Linked DNA regions of Homo sapiens: all the other regions are linked to region 1. Evidence: promoter capture Hi-C in human tissues and cell types (Jung and others, 2019). All regions are on one chromosome and are shown on one strand. The core of a region is centred on a gene start or on the middle of the fragment in contact, and the rest is flanking DNA. Distances in the headings are between cores, read along the strand shown.

Region 1 (4,225 bases), core at 903-3,402:
ACCATGAATCAGTTGACTTCCAGTCAATCATTCCTCCTCGTACCCACCAGGAACAACACTAACAACTGAGGCAAGAATGCAAAGCCACAACCTAAAAGAAAACAGACACATTGTTCCATCTGATCTACTGACAGCTAAGACAGTCACTCCATGGAGTACACAGGAGATTCGCAGGCTGCTGCCAGGGCTCATTCTGTTCTTGTCTTTCCTATGACTTTACTCAGGATTCCATTATCAGCAACTTCACCCTCCAGCTCTCTCCATCCTCCTATGAAAGCCTCAGGGACATAGAAATAAGCTTGTCTTTGTAAAATGTGCCAGGATCTCCGTCTTAGATAAAAGACGACTATGAGAAAAGAAATTATTTCATTCCACTATGTTCCATTTGATTTCTGCTTTCAAGCAATAAACCACCATGGCTTGAGATGCTTCTAGTGTTTCATGGAGAATTGGGACTATTTCCCCAACATGCCCTGCTCTTCATTCCTCTTTGCTTCTTCCCTTTTTGACTCCTTGGACCCGAGGGGCGACCATGAGTGGCGAAATTTCTGACCAGCTAGAATACCAGGCAGGTGCAGGCTCTTGAAGCACCAAGACTGGCTCAAGAGATTGTAAATGGATCAGTCAAGTGCATGCACCACTGACGGCCAGTCAGGAGAGCTTCCATTTGTTAAAAATATAAAGGACATTCCTATCATCAAGCATCACAATTAGGCAATCTCAAAGAAAACAATATTAGCTCTACTTGGCCTATGTTACATGCTCTAAGAAAGTATTTTAGAAAAGTTTTTTTTTTCAACATAAATTTATTGAAGGATCAAACGTGTTCTCTTTCTTGGTCTCTTTAGCTCGTAAAGTCGTTTTGGGGATTTCGTGAATCTGGCAAATAAAACAAAACACCAATGAAACGCTGAGAAATGATTATTTCCCTTATGTATTTTAGCGGCCTCCAGGCAGACCTGATAAATATTCAGCGAGTGATTAGCTGGTGCATCCCCACCTGCGTCCTTTGCATAGCCATGCCCGCTACTCTTTCACAGGCAGTTTTACTTGGTAAGTTACAAACGTACTGGCTGCACTCTGCACCTGACAGTATTGCAGTAATTAGCTTGGGATGCAAAATGATTTCTAAATTAAGGTCCTGGACTTGTAAAATCAAGAAAGCCTGATAATCAACATCGTCGCTCTGGTGGCCATTGAATAACGGGATAAATACCTAAGACAAGTCCTTTAACCATCCCACGTGGTGATAAATGCCCGACGTACAAATTAAAAGTCTCTACCACACGCAGGTGAAATAAGGTATAGGTCAAGAAGAGAAGGTAGGGGAAAGGGTCAATGCTTAATTATTTAAAAATCGCTCTCTTCCTCCTGTAGGAAGGTCTAGGGGCTAGGTCTTTTAGTGCACACGTGATGAAAGTGACATTTTGGCCAGGTGAAACCTCAAGCTGGTACAGGCAGCTAAAACACGGGCGTCGTGCCCTGGAGACACCGGGGGTCCTGAGGATGGGGAAGGGGCTCCCTGCTGCGGGTGCTGAGGGGTTAGGAGGTGAGCACCGGGCGGGAGGCTCCGGGGCAGGGGCTGCGCGTGGAGCCCACTCCCGGACGCGGGCTCCTCTCGGCCCGGCACGGGTGGCGCAGGACTCCGAGCCCGTCGACAAGAGAGAGAGCGGGAGTGGGAGAAGGAAGACCGGGAGAGGAGGAGGCCGGGCGGCAAGAGCGGAAGAAGAGGAGGAGAACTGAGGCGGAGGAGGGCGAGAGGGAGGAGAGCCGGGCGCAGGAAGGGGAGGAAAGAAAAAGGCGGCGGAGGAGCGCGGACCCGCCACTCCCGGCCTCCTCCCCCGCATCCCCACTCGGGCCGGCCCTCCCCCGGCCGCCGCCGCCGCCGCCGCCGCCGCCGCCGCCGCCGCCGCCGCCTCCCCTTGCCCAGTGTTCCCAGCACCGCAAGGCACTCGCTGCCTCCTCCGCACTCGGTCCGGTCCGCTCAGCGCCGCCGCCGCCGCACCCTCGCCGCACCCCCGCGCGCGCCCGGCCCGCGCGCCCCCGCCGCTCGTCCTCGCGGCCTCGCGCTCGGGGCATGCGCGGTGGGCGGTGCCGCTCCGGGCCGCCTCTGCCGCCGCGAGTAGGAAGCGCGAGCGCCGGGCACCGGGCTGTCAGTGAGCCTGGGGCCAGCGGGCGAGCCAGCGGCTCCGGCTCCCGCTCCCGCTCCGCGCAGCACCAGCCCGACTCTCCCCGGCCCCCGCCGCGCCCCCTCGCCGCGACCTCGGCCACCGGCCCGCGCCCCGCGCCCGGGGTCGCCCCGAGCCCGCACCTCTCCCCCGCCGCCCCCGCCCACCCGGCCCTCCGCGGCCGCAGCTCCCCGGCGGAGGCAAGAGGTGGTTGGGGGGGACCATGGCTGACGTTTTCCCGGGCAACGACTCCACGGCGTCTCAGGACGTGGCCAACCGCTTCGCCCGCAAAGGGGCGCTGAGGCAGAAGAACGTGCACGAGGTGAAGGACCACAAATTCATCGCGCGCTTCTTCAAGCAGCCCACCTTCTGCAGCCACTGCACCGACTTCATCTGGTAGGTGCCGGGCCGGGCACTCCTGCCCCGCTCCTCCCCGCCTCCGGGTCCCGGCACCCGGCGCTCCGGCGCGTCCGCCCCGGGGCTGGCTCACTCCGATAACTTGGAACCGGCGGGAGTCCGAACTCTTCGCCCGGAGTGACACGCGCGCCCGGCCCTGACACCGGCGGGCAGGACTCCCGGGACGTCGCCGTCCCGCCACACACACCCCCTGGCGCGAGAGGGAGGCTGGCCCCGTACGGTGGCGAAGGGGATCCCTCTCCGGGCCGGGCCCCTCACCTCCCCGGGCGCGCCCACCCGCACGCACCCAGCGGAGCGGCCGCTTGCCGGGGTGTGAGCCCAGGGGACAGGGGAGGAGGAGAGGCCCTAAGGGGGCAAAGGTTCCCGGAGAAACGCGCCCCGGAGTAACGGGGGAGCGGCGGCGATTGCACTGCGCGCGGTCCAAGTTGCTGGCGAGCCAGGCTGGGCGCGTTCGGGGTGGGGGGGTTGTGTTTGTGCTTCCCATCGGGCTGGACTGCGCTGGCATCTTGGGCCCCTGCCTACTGTAGGCTGCATCTACTGGGCACGGAGAGACTGACTTTTCTGAGTGAGCAGAGAGAGAGAGAGCAAACTGTTGAAAGCTTGCAGTGGGGGAGGGGGAGTTCTAGCAGGCAAATGGCACAAGGGCAGAGGGACTCATTTAAAATAGACCCTGTCGGCCAGGCGCGGTGGCTCACGCCTGTAATCCCAGCACTTTGGGAGGCCGAGGCAGGCGGATCACCTAAGGTCAGTAGTTCGAGACCAGCCTGGCAAACATGGTGAAACCCCGTCTACTAAAAATACAAAATTAGCCGGGCGTGGTGGCACACGCCTGTAATCCCAGCTACTCGGGAGGCTGAGACGGGAGACTCGCTTGAACCCGGGAGGCGGAGGCTGCAGTGAGCCGAGATCGGGCCACTGCACTCCAGCCTGGGTGAGACAGAGCGAGATTCCGTCTCAAAAAAAATGAAACAGACCCTGTCAACTCGAGATTAGACCTGTAACCCTGTTGATGAGGGCAGAGGCCTTATTTAAGAAAAATAATATAAGGGCCAGAGGTCAGAGATCAGGTAATCGCCAATGAATTCAGGCATTCTTAACTCGGAGGGTCCCTGGGGGCTTATGGAGAATCGATACATAGAAGGGCTTCAGGGGTCTCTGAACCCTGTAAAACTGAGGGAAATTGTGTTTGTGAATCTTTTTCCTGGTGAGAGAATTACAGCTTTCATCTGATCCTCAAAAGGTGTGTGACCCTTCTTCCCAGATCCCCGTCACCACACAAAAGTTTTGAAAGCTGGAACTAAAGGAGCTCTAGGTCCTCTAGTTAGAGCAGCAGTAGTTTGGTTTTTCTTTTAAGTTGCCCGACGTCCTGACTCTTCTACCTCTTCTTTGTGGTGTAGGAAGTTCCGGGCAAGACAGAGCTATGGCTAGGGCTTCTTAGCTCCCTCTCCTTCTAGGCCAGGGGGAGCTGCACAGGGTGGCAGTCACGGAGTGAATCCTGCCACCAGCCAGCTGTGTGGCACAGGTATCTTGGGCCACTAGGGTGAGCATAGTATGGATGGCTCTGTCGGAATCCATCACACCTGGGGAAAAACATCCCAAAGGGCAGGTCCCATGATCGTGGTGCGAATAAGGTGTTTAAT
Region 2 (4,225 bases), core at 676-3,175, 1.2 Mb before region 1:
CTTGACATGGGCTAATTTATAAAGAAAAGAAGCTTATTTGGCTCACGGTTATGGAAGCTGGGAAGACCAAGGGCATGGTGACAGCTTCTGGTAAGGGATTTTTTTTTTTTTTTTTTTGAGACAGAGTCTCGCTCTGTCACCCAGGCTGGAGTGCAGTGGCCTGATTTCAGCTCACTGCAAGCTCCGCCTCCTGGGTTCACGCCATTCTCCTGCCTCAGCCTCCCTAGTAGCTGGGACTACAGGCACCTGCCACCATGCCTGGCTAATTTTTTGTATTTTTAGTAGAGACGGGGATTCACTGTGTTAGCCAGGATGGTCTCAATCTCCTGACCTCGTGATCTGCCCGCCTCAGCCTTCCAAAGTGCTGGGATTACAGGCGTGAACCACCATGCCTGGCCCCTGGTAAGGGATTTCATACTGCATTATAACACAGCAGAAATGGGGAAGGGCAAGTGAGTGCACGCAAAAGACACCTCAGGGCACTAACTCAGTCCCTTGGAAATGATCTCACTCACAAACAGCATTAATCCACTTATGGGGCTCTACCCTTATTACCTAATTCCCTTTTAAAAGGCCCCACCTCTCAATACTGTTACATTAGCAACTAAGTTTCCAACACATGGACTTCTGAGGGACACACTCAAACCTATAGAAGCATCCTGTGATCACAGTCCCTTTTCAGCTCCTGTGCAATTAGGATCTGTATGCTTCACATGAGACACATTTTTATTCTGTGCTGTGTATTGGTCATCTCTCTCTATATACTTTACCACCTCAGCTCCCAGAGGACAAAGATTATGTTGTTTATTTGTAGCAGTCATGCCACTGGATTCATAAAAAGTATTCAATTAAATCTCACTCTTTGCATTAGGTTGTCTAACTGAGTTTTTCTTATGTGTCTTTACTGTCTGGTCCCTAGAAGGCATATTGTGACAATGATAACATCTATCACTACCACTCCCACCCTATTGTCACTGTTCCTATATTGCCTTAGGGATTATATAACTGTTTCATATTCATTATTTTCATTTGATCACAAGCACCCTTTTAAATAGATAGGGCAGATATTAGATGTTTTTTTCCTTAGTGGATGAAAATACTAAGGTTCAGAGAGGTCAGTTAACTGGTCCAGTGTCACACAGCTGACATCATCTATTTTTCAGCTTCACTGAGGCTAGAAAAACCAGTGGTCTCATTCTGAGGACGGCTACGTGCATATATGTTAAAAGGACTTTGTGAACTGAGGGCTCATACAATGGTGCATAGAATTATGATTAATGGCAGCCAGACACGGTGGCTCACGCCTGTAATCCCAGCACGTTGGGAGGCCGAGGCAGGCAGATCACGAGGTCAGGAGATCGAGACCATCCTGGCTGACATGGTGAAACCCTGTCTCTACTGAAAATACAATACAAAAAAATTAGCCGGGCGTGTTGGTGGGTGCCTGTAGTCCCAGCTACTTGGGAGGCTGAGGCAGGAGAATGGCGTGAACCTGGGAAGCGGAGCTTGCAATGAGCAAGATCGCGCCACTGAACTCCAGCCTGGGCGACGGAGCAAGACTCCGTCTCAAAAAAAAAAAAAATTATGATTAATGGCAGAAAAATAGATACTGCAAGATTGAAACAGTTCAATGAAGACAGAGCAGTATGGATGGATGGCTCTGGATTTGGTTGATAGGAGCCAAAGAGTTGATTGCGTTTGAGGGGCCCTCCAGGTGCAGATGTGTAGCAGGCAGCGGGAAATAACTCTGAGGAGGGCGGCAAGGGCAGAGTAAATGGGTGAGGAATGACCTTCATTCTTACTGTAGGTCTCCTGTATACCCTGATATTTCCTGTCTCCATTCCTTTGCTTCTGTTGTACCTTCATCCTGGGATGCCTCTCCTCACCCCAGAGCTTGAGGCTGTTATTTCCAGTTGGCTGCTACACATTTCTGTGTATATGTTCCAGAGCACGGCACAAACAAGTTTTTCTCTTTCAAAACAGGCTGCTTTCTTTTGTGTTTCCTGTTTTAAATACTGACTACCACCATTGGCTTGGCAGAGAGGTAGGAAATCTTGGAATCATATTCTCTTGCCTTCACCAAATTGTATACATTATCAACTAAGTTTCAAACACACAAACTTTTGGGAGTCACCTTCAAACCACAGGACCATCCTATGATTGCTGTCCCTTTTGAGCTCCTGTGCAATTAGGATTGCAGTGTCTAAGTACAAGAGACTCATCTATAGTGCTTCTAGTGACCATATTCTCTTACTTTTCCTCATTGCCTCTGCCTGAACTGTGCTCTCTCCTGCATGATTATTTCCTCTGATACAGAAAGGTTTACTCCTCCTTTTTCTCTACTTGGCCGTACCATGGGTTCCCTTCCAAGTTCACTTCCTCTAGGAAGTATTTCTTGATTATTTGTCTTAGTCCATTTTCTGTTGCTCTAACAGAATACCCGAGACTGGGCAATTTACAAAGAAAAGAAGCTTATTTGGCTCACGATTATGGAGGCTGCGAAGTCCAAGGGCATGGCTACAACTGCATACCCTCCTTTTTGCATCTATAATTTTGCACATCTAAAACCATCTATAATTTTGCAAAACAAGGCAAACTCTGCTGCTTCTCCATGAGAGCTTCCATTTGTCTATGAATGACATCGAAGACCTATTGTGTCCTGGATTTATTTGCTCTCCCTTGGCATGCCATGCAGTTTTACCCATTCATGCCTTTGCACGTGCTTGTTCCTCAGCCTGGAATGCTCCTTTTCTCTGGGGCAGAAGCAACAACTTCTTGCCAAATAGCCCATGTTCTCTGAGTTAGAATTACTGGGCCATGAGCAGAAGTGTTGTGTGGGTTTTCAGGCTGAAGTCTTGAAGGGTGAGTACCAATTCTCCATGTTTTTCTCTCTTCCCCTGCACAGTGATGGAGCACATGTAATGGAATGAGAAACCATAAATGGTAGCAGCCTAGAGAGTTGAGTCAAGACATCAAGGGAGGGCCCTGGACACTGCCCAACTTGACTTAGCATTTTCTTAAGAGAGATAAACCCTTGTTGGGTTAAATCTGTGTTACCACAGCATAATCTAAATTATCCTGAGTAATACATTCTCATTTTCTGCCAGTTACAAATCTTTAAGTATCAGCTTAAATCCTCTTTCTTTAAAAGCCTTCCAGAACCAACCCACCCCTAGCCAGAATTGATGTCTTTTCTTTGTGCTTTCACAGCCTGTGTAACTTATGTCTATTTGACACTTAATGCCTAGTATTATGGTTGGTCATGTAGAGTTAGTGACAGAATGAGTAAGAGTATGAATTCCAAAGCCAGACTGACTGGTTCACATATCAGCTCTGTCATTTACCAGCAGTGGGAATTTCGATGAGTTACTTAGACTTCCAGAACTTGGGTTCATATTTGTCCCTCCAGAACCTACCAGAGTGTCCGACATAGTAATTATATTACATATGTCAATAATTATGTTAAATAATACCTGTTTACCGGCCTCCTTCTTTTTTGTCTTGCAGGTTGAAATATCAGTAAAAAACATGCAGACCCAAAGATGGGGACCAAAATCCAAAGCCAGAGGGTCCTGGAAATCAGAGGGTCTTACAACATAACAGGCAGTACAGGCCATGGCTCAGGCTAGGCGTGGAACAGACTGCAGTTCTCTTCTACAAATCAATCTAGACTGGACAGACAGAACTCCAAGGGAGGAAAGAAAAATGAATCTGATGTTACTTCTTGAAACCACATTTTCTGAAGTCACCATTTTTATGTATCTATCAACTCATCATTTTTATGTATATATCAATATGATTTTATGATCTTATTTTTTCCTACTAATGTGATGAATTACCTTGATTGATTTTAGAATATTAAATCACTTTTGTATTCCTGGAATAAACCCTAGATGGATGCTTGATTTTTTCTAATTCCTTAGCAAAAATGCTAATATTTTATTTAGGATTTTGCATCTATATTCACAAGTGAGGATTTTTTTCCTCTCCTGACACCAACCAATTCTCCAACACAAACTGAGTGTCCTACAATTCAATTTAATTCTGACACTACCCAGAGTTAGCATTAGCCTCCACAGATTTAAGGCCTCAGCCCTACAAGACTGTCCCAATCAGACTCCAGTTGCAAGTCCTGGGCCACCCATACTTCTGGGCAACTGGTTACAAATTGGGGGTTCTTATGACCACCTCCCACAGGCTTGACAATTTGCTAGAATGATTAGTG
Region 3 (4,225 bases), core at 1,133-3,632, 1.0 Mb before region 1:
TTGGAAAATCCAGGGCATCTGGTCGCAGTCAACAGAGCGCCTTGCCTTCTTCAAAGCTCCCTGGATTCCGCACACATAAAAGGCCCATGACATGCTGTGGCCCCCAAGTCATCCCCCTTCTCAAGTCTCACATCAGTCAGCCCCTTATTAGACTGCTGAGTCGAGTCTGTGTCACTCCCTCCTAAAAGGGCTTGGAGAGGCTGGAGGATGTCCAGGCAGGAGACACAAAAATGATCAAAGAGCTGGAAACTGGGCCCTGTAAAGAAAGGTTAAAGGAATTGGAAGTGGTTTGCCTGGAAAAAGCGAGGGAGAGTCTGAAGCACCCAAATTCAGAGATGAACCACACAAACCTCACGTTAGCCTCGGTTTTCCTGCCACTTGCAGCTTTCATTTGCAGGGTCAAATGGAAGCAATAACCAATCGTTCACTTTGATCGTGAACTTATGATGCTCCCAGCTTTCTCAGTACTTGGCGTGGTTATCTCATTTCATTGTCATGACCGTCCTATGACTGTCCCTGCCTTTCAGATGAAGAAGCGGAGGCCCAGAAGAGAAGTTATGTAACTAGCTTGAGTTCATTCCACTAGGGAGTGATGGGTGCAGGCTACAGACTCTAGGCTAGGGACACTAGGGAGTGATGGGTGCAGGCTAGGGTGCACACTAGGGAGTGATGGGTGCAGAAGATGCTTCAGACTACATCTCCAACAGCAAGTGTTTTTATGGGTGTCCTTTTTTTTTTTTTTTTTTAGACAGGATCTTAGAGTTTCATTCTGTCACCAAAGCTGGAGTGTAGTGACGATCATGGCTCACTGCAGTCTTGAACTCCTGGGCTCAAGCAATCCTCCCACCTAGGCCTCCCAAGCAGCTGAGAACACAGGTGCTTGCCACCACACTTGGCTAATTTTTTAAAATTTATTTTTTGTAGAGTTGGAGTCTTGCTATGTTGGCCAGGCTAATCTCGAACTTCTGACTTCAAGCCATCCTCCTACTTCAGCCTCCCAAAGTGCTGGGATTACAGGCATGAGCTGCCATGCCCAGCCTACAAGTACCCTTTAAAAATGTAGCCTCATGTCATACAGTACAGCATGAAATTTGCAGGTGATTGTTAACAACAAAAACTCCTTAAATGACTGAAGGCATTGAGCTGTCACCAGGTTTGGGTTCAGCAATGTGCCCTATACAATGTAATATCATCACTCCCCCTGTTACCTCAGGTGTTGTGGGCTCAATTGTGTGTCTCCTCCCCCCACCCCCAAATTTTTGTGTTGAAGTCCTAACCTCCAGTACTTCAAGTTGTGACTGCATTTGGAGATACAGTCACTGAAGAGGTAATTAAGTTAAAATGAGGTCATTAGAGCAGGTCCTAATTTACTATGACTGATGTCTTTATAAGAAAAGGAGGTTGGGACACAGATACCCTCAGAGTAAAGATCATATGAAAGCAGAGGGAGGCAGCCAGGCGCAGTGGCTCACGCCTGTAATCCCAGCACTTTGGGAGGCCTTGGCGGGTAGATCACTTGAGGTCAGGAGTTTGAGATCAGCCTGGCCAACATGGCGAAACCCCATCTCTACTAAAAATACAAAAATTAGCCAGGCATTGGTGGCTCATGCCTGTAGTCCCAGCTACTCGAGAGGCTGAGGCTGGAGAATTGCTTGAGCCTGGGAAGTGGAGGTTGCAGTAAGCCAAGATCATGCCACTGCACTCCAGCCTGGGTGACAGAGCAAGACCCTGTCTCAAAAAAAAAAAAAAAAAAAGAAAAGACAGGGAGAAGACAGCTGGCTGAGCCACGGAGAGAGACCTCAGAAGAAACCAACCCTGCTGACACCTTGATCTTGGACTTCCAGCTTCCAGAACTGCAAGATAATAAATTTCTGTTGTTGAAGCCACCCAGACTGTGGTACTTTATTATGGCAGTCCCTTACAAACAATACACTGGGCAATCCTCAAAATAACCTCTTATTAACCCCCTTTTAAAAAAGAAGAAACAGAGACTTGGAGGGTCTTAGTCACTTGCCCACTGTCACACAGAGAGCTGGTGGCAGAAATAGATTCACATCCCTTTCTTGTCATTCAGAGTCCCGTGCTCCTTTAACGTCCCTCCAGAACATAGTGGAGACAAAGAAACACAAACAGTGGGCAACATTTGCCTGGAAGGTCAAACCCTTGCTGACATAGGCTGTGTTTCCATCCTGCAGCTCAGCAGACCTTCCCATCCCCTAATGTGGAGACACAGAGTTTTATTTAATAGGGAACCCAAACATGGGCAGGAAGACCCTGTCAATTGCAAAGCAAACAGGGGCAGAAAGGCTTGGCAAGGTGCTCTTAAAATGCAAGTCTGGGGCCAGGTGAAGTGGCTCATGCCTGTAATCCCAGCACTTTGGGAGGCTGAGTAGGGTGGATCACTTGAGGTCAGGAGTTCAAGACCAGCCTGGCCAACATGGCAAAACCCCGTCTCTACTAAAAATACAAAAATTAGCTGGGCATGGTGGTGCATGACTGTAATCCCAGCTACTTGGGAGGCTGAGGCACGAGAATTGCTTAAACCCAGGAGGTGGAGGTTGCAGTGAGCTGAAATCACACCATGGCACTCCAGCCTGGATGACCGAGAGAGACCCTGCCTCAAAAAGAAATAAAAATTTAAAAATAAAATAAATGCAAGTCTGAAAAAGCCTTACTGGTTCCTCAGGGGGATAATGCAATGCGTCAGTGCATCTTGAACTATAAGAAAATTCCTTCAGATGAAAGAAGAACATGCTGGCCATCACCATGCTAGGAAAAATGTGGATTTAGGCCTTCATAATCAGACCTCCACTTCAGTACAGGGGCATGATCACCACTGAATTAATAGTAAAAGATGATGAAGTTCCACAGCCCAGCTGCAGCTCTACAGGTCAAGGTAGGAGATGGAGTCTACAGAAGAAGGCAGTCCTAGGTGCTAAGGGCTCTAAGGGGCCCCCAGAGATCATCAGGATCTGGCTTCCCTGGAGGAAGCAGGTTTCTGGATGGGGAAGTGGCATCGGGAGGGGGTTGTGGGATTTGCTCATAGATCTTGGATCGCAGGAGATCCAATGTCCTCTGATTTCTGCCCATGAAGGGAACAGTCTTTGCATACCACAGTGATGACTACCACTTATGTCAGGTGCTGTGAGTACCAAGTCCTTTATATCTATTTTATTTCAAGGCTTGGTAACATTTCAAGATATTCTTATTTTACATGGGAAGAAACAGAAGCACAGAGAGGTAACTGAACAGAAGCCACAGCAATCATAAAAAAGGGCAGACCCAAGCCTTGAAACCAAGTCCGCTTTATTCTAAGCTTCCTGCCCTCTAAAATATGCCGTGTTTTCTCCTGACTCCCTATCTTTTCTTTGCTTTTCAACCTTCCCAGTGTTCAGCCTGACGCTATACCCAGTATGGGTGCCCAGTTCTGCTGAATCAAATAACAGCTATGGTAAAACACAACCCAAAGAATCCATCTCTCCATTGGACCAAAGCATTATTTGAGTGTTTCTCAAAGTGCCCCTTGGGATGCATTGTTCCTCACCAAAAGTGTTCTATGGTCAGATAAAAGTGGGAGCCATGCATATTACAGCCCCTTCTCTGAGAACCAGAAAGCACAACAGAGTGTGGAAGGAGCAGAGGATGCCGGATGAACTCAGCCCAGCCCAGCCCAGCCTTTGACTTCAGGAGGAGCTCAGCAAATATTTATTGACCAAACAAGTGAATGAATGAATGACCGTGTTGAAACATGTTCATTTGGCTTACCTGAGTGTATTAGCCTGCTCAGGCTGCCATAACAAAATACGTTAGACCTGGTGGCCTCAACAACAGAAATTTCTTTTTCTTTTCTTTTCTTTTTTTTTTTTTTTTTTGAGACAGAGTCTTGCTTTGCTGCCCAGGCTGGCGTGCAGTGGTGCAATCTTGGCTCACTGCAACCTCCACCTCCCAGTTTCAAGTGATTCTCCTGCCTCAGCCTCCTGAGTAGCTGGGAATATAGGCATGTGCCATCACGCCTGGCAATTTTTTTTTTTTTTTGTATTTTTAGTAGAGACGGGGTTTCACCATGTTGGCCAGACTGGTCTTGAACTCCTGACCTCAGGCCATCCAGCCTCCCAAAGTGTTGGAATTACAGGTGTGAGCCACCACGCCTGGCCCCAGAAATTTATTTTCTCACAGTTCTGGAGGCTGGACATCCAAGATCAAGGTCTAGTAGGATTGGTGTCTG

The links. Contacts are between HindIII fragments. The study calls those that stand out against the background at their distance.
Region 2: a fragment that was not itself captured here is called in contact with the fragment with the promoter of PRKCA in region 1 in 1 of the 25 tissues and cell types used here (dorsolateral prefrontal cortex).
Region 3: a contact is called between a fragment that was not itself captured here and the fragment with the promoter of PRKCA in region 1, in 1 of the 25 tissues and cell types used here (spleen).

What each region holds. Positions count from the first base shown.
Region 1 is chr17:66,300,461-66,304,685 of GRCh38, forward strand. PRKCA (protein kinase C alpha) reads left to right here and starts at 2,153. Exons shown (of 17, transcript NM_002737.3): 1 at 2,153-2,564. The coding sequence starts at 2,392. RefSeq lists an enhancer at 2,947-3,448. The HindIII fragment of the contact is 12,107 bases long and covers 1-4,225 here.
Region 2 is chr17:65,107,209-65,111,433 of GRCh38, forward strand. It overlaps LOC100507002 (a long non-coding RNA gene), which reads left to right. Exons shown (of 3, transcript NR_110801.1): 3 at 3,508-3,887. Among named protein-coding and RNA genes, the nearest start is that of RGS9, 28 kb to the right of the region's middle. The HindIII fragment of the contact is 6,493 bases long and covers 1-4,225 here.
Region 3 is chr17:65,298,302-65,302,526 of GRCh38, forward strand. No RefSeq gene overlaps it. Among named protein-coding and RNA genes, the nearest start is that of LINC02563, 160 kb to the right of the region's middle. The HindIII fragment of the contact is 6,261 bases long and covers 1-4,225 here.